3 separate regions of the Homo sapiens genome follow, and regions 1 and 2 are each linked to region 3. Evidence: promoter capture Hi-C in human tissues and cell types (Jung and others, 2019). All regions are on one chromosome and are shown on one strand. The core of a region is centred on a gene start or on the middle of the fragment in contact, and the rest is flanking DNA. Distances in the headings are between cores, read along the strand shown.

Evidence for each region. The method cuts DNA at HindIII sites, captures the fragments that hold promoters and counts their contacts. A contact is called where the count stands out against the background at its distance.
Region 1: a contact is called between a fragment that was not itself captured here and the fragment with the promoter of GUCA1B in region 3, in 3 of the 25 tissues and cell types used here (adrenal gland, bladder and liver).
Region 2: a contact is called between a fragment that was not itself captured here and the fragment with the promoter of GUCA1B in region 3, in 2 of the 25 tissues and cell types used here (liver and spleen).

Annotation. Positions count from the first base shown.
Region 1 is chr6:42,299,079-42,302,797 of GRCh38, forward strand. TRERF1 (transcriptional regulating factor 1) reads right to left here. Exons shown (of 18, transcript NM_001395490.1): 4 at 1,560-1,671. Among named protein-coding and RNA genes, the nearest start is that of MRPS10, 83 kb to the left of the region's middle. The HindIII fragment of the contact is 6,848 bases long and covers 1-3,719 here.
Region 2 is chr6:42,280,620-42,284,589 of GRCh38, forward strand. The region is part of intron 4 of TRERF1 (transcriptional regulating factor 1); the gene reads right to left. Among named protein-coding and RNA genes, the nearest start is that of MRPS10, 65 kb to the left of the region's middle. The HindIII fragment of the contact is 8,920 bases long and covers 1-3,970 here.
Region 3 is chr6:42,193,133-42,196,945 of GRCh38, forward strand. It overlaps GUCA1B (guanylate cyclase activator 1B), which reads right to left and starts at 1,824. Exons shown (of 4, transcript NM_002098.6): 1 at 1,482-1,824. The coding sequence starts at 1,688. The HindIII fragment of the contact is 9,949 bases long and covers 1-3,813 here.

The sequences.
Region 1 (3,719 bases), core at 691-3,190, 110 kb after region 3:
AATATCTATCTATCTATCTGTCTGTCTGTCTGTCTGTCTCTATCTATCTATCTATCTACATATATATATATATCTAGCTAGCTGGATAACCCCTGAAAAAACACACATAGAGTCTGTTTTTTTCTATCTATCTATCTATCTATCTATCTATCTATCTATCTATCATCTATCCAGGTAGCTAGCTGGGTAACCCCAGAAATAACAGACATAGAGTATGCAAGTTACAAATAAGAAGATGGAAAATGAAATGAGGGGGGAAAATACCTCAACCTAAAAGAAAGAGCAGAAAAAATTAAATGCATGTAAAGATGGTAGAAATAAATCCCAATTCATCAATAAAATACACCAGTTCTAAACATCTATGCACCAAACAGTATTGCCTCAAAACATATAAAGCAACAATTTCAGCATTGCAAGGAGCAACTGACAAATCCAGTGGGAGGCTTTAACACACCTCTCTCAATAATTGATAGATAATCAGACAAAATCAGAAAAGAACATATTATAGATGATTTGAGCTGCACAATAAGCTAACTTATCTTTCAATGATGATATATAGAAAACTATATCCAATATTTAAAGATGTTTTTTGAAGCACTTATGGGACATTTAAGAAAAAAAGTTGCAGAGATAAAAATGTAAAAAAGGAGCCCACGGAAGTAGTTCAATGCATATTTCAAACTCTAAGGATCTAAACCTATTTTGTCTTAAAAGACAGAGACCCTGTCTTTCTTCTTCATTGATATATCTCCAGAGTCTAGCACAGTGCCTGTCACAAAGGAGGCTGTAAATAGCCACTGAAGAACGAATGGTGAATGAATGATTCTCTACTGAAGATGGTGCAGGTTGCATGAGCAACCAGCAAGGCAGACGCTGGAGGTAACTAAAGCCCTTTCCAACACAGAGGGGACGAGAGGACAAGGTGACTGGCACCAGTCTCTAGGGAGAATTTATACCAAAAAAAGAAAGACGGAGTCATGACAGCCAAATCTTCAAATCTTCAAACCCAGTGAGAGAGGCATGTGGAAGAGTCTTTGAAAGCCAAGTCTTTGTGGTTCCTAATGGCAGAGCAGAGACCAGCAGACAGAACTAACAACTAACTGTCCAACACTGGCTGGAAACTGGCCTGACTGATCATCTAAGGCCCCTTATGACTCTGTGTGGGACAGAAGTCTGTCTAGCAGGTACTGGGACTCTCAGGTCGTGGACTGAGTAATCTTTCCCATTCTATCCTGTCTCAGAGATTTTTTCATTCAAAATTCCCTGGATACCCCATCCTGTAAGACCTGTCCAAGGTCCCAGATTCAGGAGGTGGTGGAAGAATAATAAGAGCTCCATTCTAGACACTCAACTCAGTCCTTTCTGCTCCATATCAGCCTCTCCTTTAACCAAAATGAGCACACTTTAATCTGTAAAGTGACATGCACTTTCTAAGTCTACCCTCATCCCAGGAAACCTCATTCTTCTAGCACATAGCAAGGGATTACAAATGCATACAGAAAGTGTTAAAATGAAAATGAAAATTCCTCAGCCTTCCAGAAGAAGGAAAGCAAGCTCACCTTGACCTCCGCAGATGGCTGAGTTGGGGGCCTGGTTCTGGGGGCTTCTCCTGCGGTCGGCCAATCATGCTGCTTTCATGCTGCTGGACAGGTGGGAAGAGGAGGCCTGGTCCTGTGGGGAAAAGAAAAAGGAAAGGTCATTTCCTCATCATTTGCTCCTAGCTCTTCATCACCATCCTGCAGAAGACACTACCAGAAATCCCAGGGAAATTCCCGAGGCTGTCCTCACCTACTCTTAGGTAATGAGGAAGCAGACAGGCATGCATTCAACAAACATTTCCAAAGGCCTGCAATGTGCCAGGCAGGGCACTGAGGAATGAGGCCATGGAGATGAACTGGATGCAGTCTCTACACTTAGGAAACAGAGAGAGAGAGAGAGACAGACAGACAGACAGACAGACACAGAGAGATATAGAGAGACAGAGAGAGATCTGAGTTTCATTATAATATCATTTGCTAAGTGCTGTGATTCCCCAAATCCATTCAACAGCTGACTTTCCTCATGGGGGAGCTACAGCAGCTTACAGGTGCCTTGGCATACAGCTTCTCAAGTTATTTGTCATGAAGAACCAGTTGTTTTGTTTTGTTTTGTTTTGTTTTGTTTTTTTCTGAGACAGAGTCTCACTCTGTTGCCCAGGCTGGAGTGCAATGGTGTGATCTTGGCTCACTGCAACTTCTGCCTCCCAGGTTCAAGCAATTCTCCTGCCTCAGCCTCCCAAGTAGCTGGGATTATAGGTGCCCACCACCACACCTGGCTAATTTTTGTATTTTTAGTAGAGACGGGGTTTCACCATGTTGGCCAGGCTGGTCTTGCACTCCTGACCTCATGATCTGCCCGCCTCGGCCTCCCAAAGTGCTGGGACTACAGGCGTGGGCCACCGTGCCCAGCCGAAGGACCAGTTTTTAAAAAATTTTCCACACCATTAGAGATGACTACTTTAATAAAATATAGTAAAAATGAACTGCTAGAAAAAGGAAATGAAAAGATACTGATACAAAGTGCAAGCTCACTTTTAAGTTCTTTGATTCAACAGATTATTCTGTCAAATCGGCATGAAAGTTACTAAGCACCGACTCAATTTCTGAACTTATCTCATGGACCGCTAAAGAGTTTGCAGAGAGCACCACTCCTGAGCCACAGCTGAGTAGCAGCATTGCTATAGTAGAGACTTCCACATTGCACACCTTTCCTAAGATGTCTAGCTGATATGTTCAGAGAGGGAGGCTAGAAAGAAAAATGATTTCAAATTCACTCTCTGGACTATAAAAAGTTAGTTCAGAGAGTCTCTCTTTGGGAAGGAGAACCACAGCAGGAGCTTTGGGAAAGTGTGGCTCCATGCTGTTTGGAGATAGGTGGTGGCACCCACCTGCTGTGTTCAGGTAACAAAGTGTGAGGCTCATGGAAAGCTGTTCCTGGAGCCCTGTCTGCCTCCACCCTGAACTTCCCAACCCTAACTATGGCAACCCCGCCTGAAGCTCCCTCCCTGAATGAGAAGAACAAAGAGTCATCTATTAAAATGCACTGGGACATTTCAGAAAATAAATCATTTTCAAGATGCCAAAAGGGCTGCTGGTATGCATTCCTACTATTTAATGCTATAAAATGATTTTTTTTTAAATGAGAAATCCTTTGTCTGTGACAGCTAGCTCCAAAAAAAACCTTTAACTGCCTATTTCCTTAATACTTGAGGGAGGCATTACAAGTCATTTTCACCCATTTGAATGTTTAAGAGAAAGTGCTCATTCTTCTAAATTCGCTGCTTTTAAGTAGTTCTTATTTTAAGCTTTAGAAGAAGATAACTCTGCAGAAGAAAACTTCCTTTTTCAAAGCCTTGTTTGTTTTGTTTTTTTAAATGCAAACACACATACACTCTCAACTCCCTGCTTCAAATGTTAAATCATCTGCAATTTTGGAGTTTGTTGCTCATGAAATTCTAGCGATAAGCACATCACAAACATTCCTATAGCAACAGAGTGTTTTTGAAGCAACATCTGTAATGTTACAAAGATTGTGTATCATTATCTCTGAATGTTGGCAAAGGGAAGGTTATGGGGAATAACTGTTTATGTACAAATAAGTCAGTACAGTAACTGGCAACCTGAATAGCAGACCTTACCAAGGAGCTAAGCATGGCACGGGTGGGAAGCAGGAATGCACTT
Region 2 (3,970 bases), core at 134-2,633, 87 kb after region 3:
TGCTATGGGAGGCCAGCCTTCCCAGGCAGATGAGTGAGGCTCCTCATTCAAGGGTCCAGGGGGAGCCTCACCCTCATGGCACCCTGTGTAGGCTCTCGGGGCCCTTAGGAGGCTGCTGAGGGCGGGGAAAGGAAGGAGTGAGGGAGGAGGCCTGGAAGCCAATTAGGAAGATGTCCTTGAGAGGCAAGTCCATGGGAGCTGCAGAGAAAGTCTGTCAGGAGGACCTGGTTCCAAACTTGTTCCAAATCACAGCATGCCACGATGAAGAAAAACAGTATGTTTTAATTCATAAATGCTTCTAAGAATTCAGTGTTATGGAATAAAGTTGGAAGTGAAATTCCCCCTCACCTGAGATTCCCACTGTCTGGTGCTTTGTATGTGGACGGTGGGAGGGATGATGAAGGTTGGCTTCTGGTTACTGAGAGGCCTCAGGGGATAAAGAGGGGTCCTGCCCTTTCTGGGTTTGCTCCTCCTCTGGCAATCTTCATGCTCCCCTGGGAAGCCCCCAAACCTGTCTGGACTTGCTCAAGGCAGATATCCTGTTGGTCACTGGCCCCCATTATCTCACAGTCCCAATTTCTTGCCAAAACAACTTCCCTTTGCTGCTAGGGGACCCCTGCAGCTGAACCAAGAAGACAGAAATGCGGCCCCGGAGCCTGGGCTGCAGGGAGAGTGTGAGGACCAAATCCTAGCTAAAGGTTTTACAGGCCCAGACACGCATACTTCTGTTTGTTGGAAACATTACCCCACCAAGCTCAGTCACCTCAGGTATTTCATTTTTCAAACAATACTAGATATCCAGTTCCATAGAAACAGAATTGTGTTTAATAGCTCTGTTTTTTAAAATCTCTCCCTCTCTCTCCACTGTGCCACGAGCAGTGTTTGGCCAAAGCAGATTCACTCAATGTTTATGGAACACAGCAAACAAGTTTGTCAAATATCAACCCTGTGTGCATGGTAAACTATTAGAAAGTGAAGGAGCCAATCCCCTTCTCCAGACCAGCTGAGGTGGTCCAGAATTACATCCAGGATGCCTGCTTAAGAGTGCCCAGACTCTGCCAGGATCCTCCAGCCCTGTGTGGAGGCGGGTCACAGAGGGGTGGCTGTAGGAGGGACACCCAGCGTGGCATCGATGAGCTGGATTAAGATGCTGCTACGCAAACAGGAAGGAAGAACAGCAACGATGGCTAACGTGCATTGGGCGCTAACCCCAGGCTAGGCACAGTGCCAAGTCCCTCAGAAGCCCCTCCCAATAACCCCACATGGTGGTAAGTGCATCCATCACCTTTAACTACCTTACCAACCTCCCAATGACACCTTGCAATGAACATTCTCAGATGCATCCCCTTAGGAACATCTGTGAGAATTTCTTTAGGATACATACCCAGGAGTAGAGGAAGGTGTGATGCTTTTTATGTGTCAGTTTGGCCAGGCTGAACTACTGCCCTCAGAATTCCCTTTCTAGGGAGTTGGTTAAAGCAGAGACTCATAGAAAATGACATGTAGACAAGTGTGTATGCTGCAGTATTGCTAGAAAAGCCAAAGACTGAAAACAACCCAAATGCCTAACCATAAGGGATTGATTGAAGGAAATCATGGAATAACCGCAGGATGGGATACTATGCAGTTGTTAAAACTAACAAGGAGACTGGGCACAGTGGCTCATGCCTGTAATCCCAGCACTTTGGGAGGATGAGGCAGGAGGATTGTTTCAGCCAAGGAGTTAGAGACCAGTCTGGGCAACATGGGGAAACCCTGTCTCTACAAAAAATACAAAAATCAGCCAGGTGTGGTGGTGCACACTTGTAGTCCCAGCTACTTGGGAAGCTGAGGTGGGAGCATCAATTGAGCCCAGAAGGTTAAGGCTGCAGTGAGCCATGATGGCGCCATTGCATTCCAGCCTGGGTGACAGAGTGAGACCCTGTCCCAAACAAACAAACAAACAAACCGAACCAAAACAAAACAAAAAATCCAAAAGAACAACAATGAAACTCTCTATGAAATGAAATGGAAAGACGTCCAAGGTTAAGTGAAAAAGAAAGATGCAGAACAGTATGTTCAGTATGCTCTCTTTTGTGTAAAAAATGGTTAAAATAGAATATATACATATGTAGGTATATAGATAGTTGATTTTTGTTAGTTGTGGTAGTTACATCCTATAAAGTCTCTATGATCACTGAATTAGTGAATACTGAGCCACTGCTCCTAAGAGAAATACAGGGTTAGGTTCCTGCAAGCCCCTGGTTGCAACATTTTTGTCAACTGATCAGTATATAACCTTGTTTTATATGTGTCTGCTTAAAGGATATCTTATTTAACATCTATTTTTTTCATTCATTAACATTGACCTCACAGCCAACAGTACTACAACTAATGCCTGAAAGGAGCTTATCTAATTCACCCATTTTCTCTGTAAGGCACATACATCACAGCCTTCTCGTGCTGAGAACAGTAGGCAACACTTTAGCATTACACTTGGAGGCCATTTCAAACAGTGAAATCAACAACAAAAACAACAAAAATATGAAAAATGCCATACTAAATACACCAAAAAAGCACACTTGTGTCCAGCAGGAGAGCTGAAATAAGAAGGTGGAGTTGCCTTGTTTAACCTCAGCTTGGGAACATGCATCGGGCGACTCAAAATTTTCACTGCTCTGTGCCTGTCCTCAAATGACCAAGAAAGCACTGAGCATCGGTTTTGTGGTTACAAATAAGTTTAGAGAGTAGGGAATTTGCAAATATGGAATCTGTGAATAATAAGGGTCAACTATGTATTTATAATTGATATATATTCATAAAGAAAATCTGGAAGGATCCAAGAAACTAATAATAGTTGTCTGCAGGGAGGTGGTAGAAACTGGGCTAATTGGGGAAAAGAGCAGGAGGGAGATTTTTCATTTTATAACTTTTTATATTTTTCTGTGTTTTTGAACCATGTGAATACATTACTTACAAAAAAAACCCAGATAGAATAACATATGAAAAAAACTTTTTTTTTTTTTTTTTTTTTTGAGATGGAGTTTTGCTCTTGTTGCCTAGGCTGGAGTGCCATGGCACGATCTCGGCTCACCACAACCTCCACCTCCCGGGTTCAAGTGAGTCTCCTGCCTCAGCCTCCCGAGTAGCTGGGATTACAGGCATGCGCCACCGTGCCTGGCTAATTTTGTATTTTTAGTAGAGACGGGGTTTCTCCATGTTGGTCAGGCTGGTCTCGAACTCCCAACCTCAGGCAATCTGCCCGCCTCGACCTCCCAAAGTGCTGGGATTACAGGTGTGAGCCACTGCACCCTGGCCAAAAAAAACCTTTATGTGCACTTAATTGCAGTACATTAATGCCTTATGAATTTATTTTAACTTAAAACACAAATATCTTACTGGTCTTTTGAGGCAGGGTCCAGAACTTTTCTTTGCTCATAGATCTGTGGAATAGAGCTCTGTATTTATCATTTGTGCATAAACCACTGATGATGCATAATCTATACTTTTTCAGTTTGGTTTCTTTAAAAAGGAGCCAGAAGTAGAGAATCCTGGTAAAGGAATTGTAGTGCAGCATCCTCTGACACGCTTTTATTTTCTTCTCCCTCTAGTGTCAATCTTTATAATTTTTAATTTTTTTTTTTTTTTTTGTAGAGACAGGGTGTCGCTGTTTCCCAGGCTGGTCTTGAACTCCTGGCCTCAAGCAATCCTCATGCCTTGGCCTCCCAAAGTGTTGGGATCACAGGCGTGAGCCACGGCACCACAGTGCCAGTCTTTAATAGTTGTCTTGCTCACACCTAATTTGGCAGCAATTCTCTTTTGGTGGCTTGCTTTTATCACTTCTTTCCAAAGCATTCAACAGTGAAAAATGTGTCGCCTGTCACACATTCTCAGCTGAGGTAGAACAAGGTGACTCTTACTTTTCACTGAAATAGCACTTCTCTTTCTTTTTTGCATTCATAGTTCATTGGCTTAGATCACATTTAACTAA
Region 3 (3,813 bases), core at 574-3,073:
TGTAAATTTAGAATCATAGTAAAATTAAAAAGTTATTCAAAAAGGAAAAAACATTGATGAACATCATATGCCGATTTATAAGAAGAGATGAGGTATAAGGAGTACAACTATATGCCTAGGGGCTTAATCAGCCCTTTGGATCTTGAATCATGATCGTATTGATTTTTAGATGAATCTGGGGAAGATTGATGGACTTAAATGAGTCTTATTATTTATGACCTGATATATTTGTTTACTTTTCTTACATTTTAAAAAAACATCAATTATTTTAAAAAGTCATCTTCTCTCTTTAAAAAACCTGCCTTCTAGGCAGGAGCACTTAAGACCTTGGGCAAATCGATTCATTCCCTTTTGCCCAGCTTTCTCATCATTTAATTTGGAATAACAAAAGTCTGCCCCTCCCACCCAGGGTTGCTGCTGATTCAGAGGAGACCTAAGAGAGGCGGAGCGCTGAGAAGTCCGAAACTGGCTCTGTGCCCTGTGGGGTGGTCGATGGGGTTCATCTCTAAGGAGGTTCTGTTGAATTGAAGGTGCTGACCTCACCCTCCTGTCCCGGGACAGGCACTGTGGGGACGTGCACTGACTGGTACCAGCGACAGGATGAGACCTGAAGTGGCATTCCCAGTGATTCAGCTTAGAAAGCTAAGTTCTCCACGCACTGAGGAATGGAGAACTGACACTTTCTTCAGATTAAATTGGTATTTGAGGCAAATACCAGGGCATTTGAGGTATTTGAGGTATTTGAGGATTGCCAGGGCACTGAACTGGATAACCTTAAATAATCAAGGGGTTTTTAACTGAATTGAAATTTAAAATTCAATCCCCTGGTGCATTTACAAGATGTGTTATCTTCTTAGCTGCTAGTGACATTGTGGGCTTAGAGAAACTCTAGTCTGAATGATTTAATGAAACCTTCCAGGACTTGAAGAGCTGAAAGGGGCTTTTGCAGTCATTCGCCCAGTCTCCCAATACATGCAGGAGCCTCTTCCAGCATTCTTGACAGGGAGGATCTGACCAGTCTCAGAAGAACCCCAACAAGAGGGAGCTCATAGCCCATGCTAAGATACCTTGTCTCATTTAGAACATCTCTTTTGCTCCTAGTGTTTAGAGTGACAGGGGCTCTGGCAGATGCGAAAACCCGGTCATTGGGCTGCAGAGTCTTGGTCAAAAATACACAAAGAGAGGACCTGGACTGTCTGCCAGTCGCCCTTCAGCTCTCAAGAAGAGGACACAGGGAGCATCAGCCGACAGCTAAGAGATGGAGGGAGGGAAGGAGAGACAGAGAAGATGGAAAGGGACAAAAGGAAGAGAAGAGACAGAAGGGTTTGGTGAGTGAGACAGAAAAGGTAAAGAGAGACGGAGTGGAAAGAAGAGCAGAGAAAGAGCCGAGGAGTGGGGAACTGGGAGCTCTCCCTGAGGACACTTGTGGAGGAAGGCGCCAGGTGGACTGGCCACTGGTCCTTCCCTTCAGGGTGCCTTACCCCATTCTTGTCGAAGGCTCGGAACATGCCCTCTACATACTGGGAGGCCTCCTCATCGTCTGTGACCTTGAAGAAGCGCTTAAACTCATGCATAAAGAGTGTGCCGCTGGGGCACTCCATCACAAACTTCTTGTACCACTCCTGGAGCTCCGCCACATCTATCTCGCCAGCTGCCTCCGCCTCCTCCCAGCTAAACTCCTGCCCCATGCTAGCCCTGAGGAGCATCAGGGAGCAAGGGTCTGTATCTCCTCCCTGGCTTCTGCTGATGGATCTCTCCAACTAGGGCCCTCTTCCTCCCTTTCCAGGAGGCCTGATCAGCCTCTCCATCATCTCCTGGGTGACTGAACATGATCAGTCGGTGCAGGGGGCAGGTGGCAAGGGAGGTGGGTCCAGGCCAGCTAAGCTGCCCTAAGACTATTAGAAGATTCCCCAGGTGGCCGGGTGCGGTGGCTCATGCCTGTAATCCCAGCACTTTGGGAGGCCGAGGTGGGTGGATCACAAGGTCAGGAGTTCGAGACCAGCCTGGCCAACATGGTGAAATCCTGTCTCTACTAAAAATACAAAAAATTAGCTGGGCATGGTGGTGGGTACCTGTAATCCCAGCTATTCAGGAGGCTGAGGCAGGAGAATCACTTGAACCTGGGAGATAGAGGTTGCAGTGAGCTGCGATCACACCACTGCACTCCAGCCTGGGGGACAGAGTGAGACTCTGTCTCAAAAAAAAAAAAAAAAAAAAAAAAAGAGATTCCCCAGGAAGTTCTGACCTCCAGCCTAAACTCCTCCAGCCTCACTCCTTCCCTTAGCCTTGTCAACAAAGCAACCAAGCTGGCCCTGGTAGACTCTGAAGAGGTAGAAGGGGAAGAAACTGAGAGGTAAGCAGAGAGATGCAGAGTGAAGAAAGAGTCGGGGTGCTAGGCTGGGATCCTCCCATCTCACTCACTCCCTATCTCTTTAGCTGGGCCTCACATTGCTTCAGGGAGGCCCATCTTGGAGACAGGAGACTCAAATCCAGAGAGGAAGTGAGATCAAGTCCTAGGCCATAAAACAGAATCTGCTGGTGATCTGGGACTCGCCCCTCAGACGGTCTAGTGAAAAGAGGCAGAATCTATGATGGGAAGGGCTCTAGGTGAGCAACTCTCTTCCCAGGCTAACTCGGTCCCTGAAGCTCCTTTCCAGATTACACCTTTCATCTTGGGAGCTTTTCACTTTCTGATTTAAACTACAAATGCCTCCCTCCAACCCTTCACACAAGACCTAGGGGTAGTGCCTTTTTCACATTTCCTCCAAAATACTAACATGTGAGAAGGATCTGGGAGCATGGCCTAAAATATCTTTGAAGGCTCTTACTTTTACATTATAGGTCATGTAAAATTTGCTTTTGAACAATTACATATTCATGCTTATTTTAATGTAACATAAAAATGACACCTCCAAGAAATCAAAAGACCAGGGACACACATTTTTCTTTTTCTTTGCTTTTTTTTTTTAAATTTCTATTTTTTGAGACAGGGTCTCGCTCTGTCGCCCAGGCTGGAGTGCAGTGGTGTGATCTCGGCTCACTGCAACTTCCGCCTCCGGGTTCAAGTGATTCTCATGCCTCAGCCTCCCGAGCAGCTGGGATTACAGGTGCACACCACAACACCCAGCTATTTTTTCTTCTTTTTTTTTTTTTTATTATACTTTAAGTTCTAGGGTACATGTGCACAACATACAGGTTTGTTACATAGGTATACATGTGCCATGTTGGTTTGATGCACCCAGCAGCCAGCTAATTTTTGTATTTTTAGTAGAGATGGGGTTTCATCATGTTGGCCAGGCTGGTTTCAAACTCCTGACCTCAAGTGATCCACCCGCCTTGGTCTCCCAAAGTGCTGGGATTATAGGCATGAGCCACCACGCCCAGTGACACTCATTTTTCTAGAAGACTTCAGAGGCAGCAGTTCCAGTGAATCTATCCTTAACCTACCCATCCCTCACTGGGTGTTCAGCCTGAATTGTTTTGCACATCTCCAGGCCTGACCTCCTCTCTCACTGTTCTCTGCCTCCAGACGTCACTGAGCTCTGAAAGCTCTTTTAACTTTCTTGCTATTCCTGAAGGAGAAATGTGATTTCTTCTGTCATCCTTTCAAGTGGTGGTGGGTTTTTCTCCCCCACACACACCTCAAGGTCTAGATAACAGGGCTAGTGTCCTCCTCGCTTCTAACTCTTGCCTCCAAATGGCCTTTTACTTTTTTCTCCCCAAAAAAGGCCAGTCCCTTTGAAGCCACATCTGACTCCTTGCCACTATTTACTTCTCCTCATTACTGTCATTCACTGGTGACTTCCCTGCTTG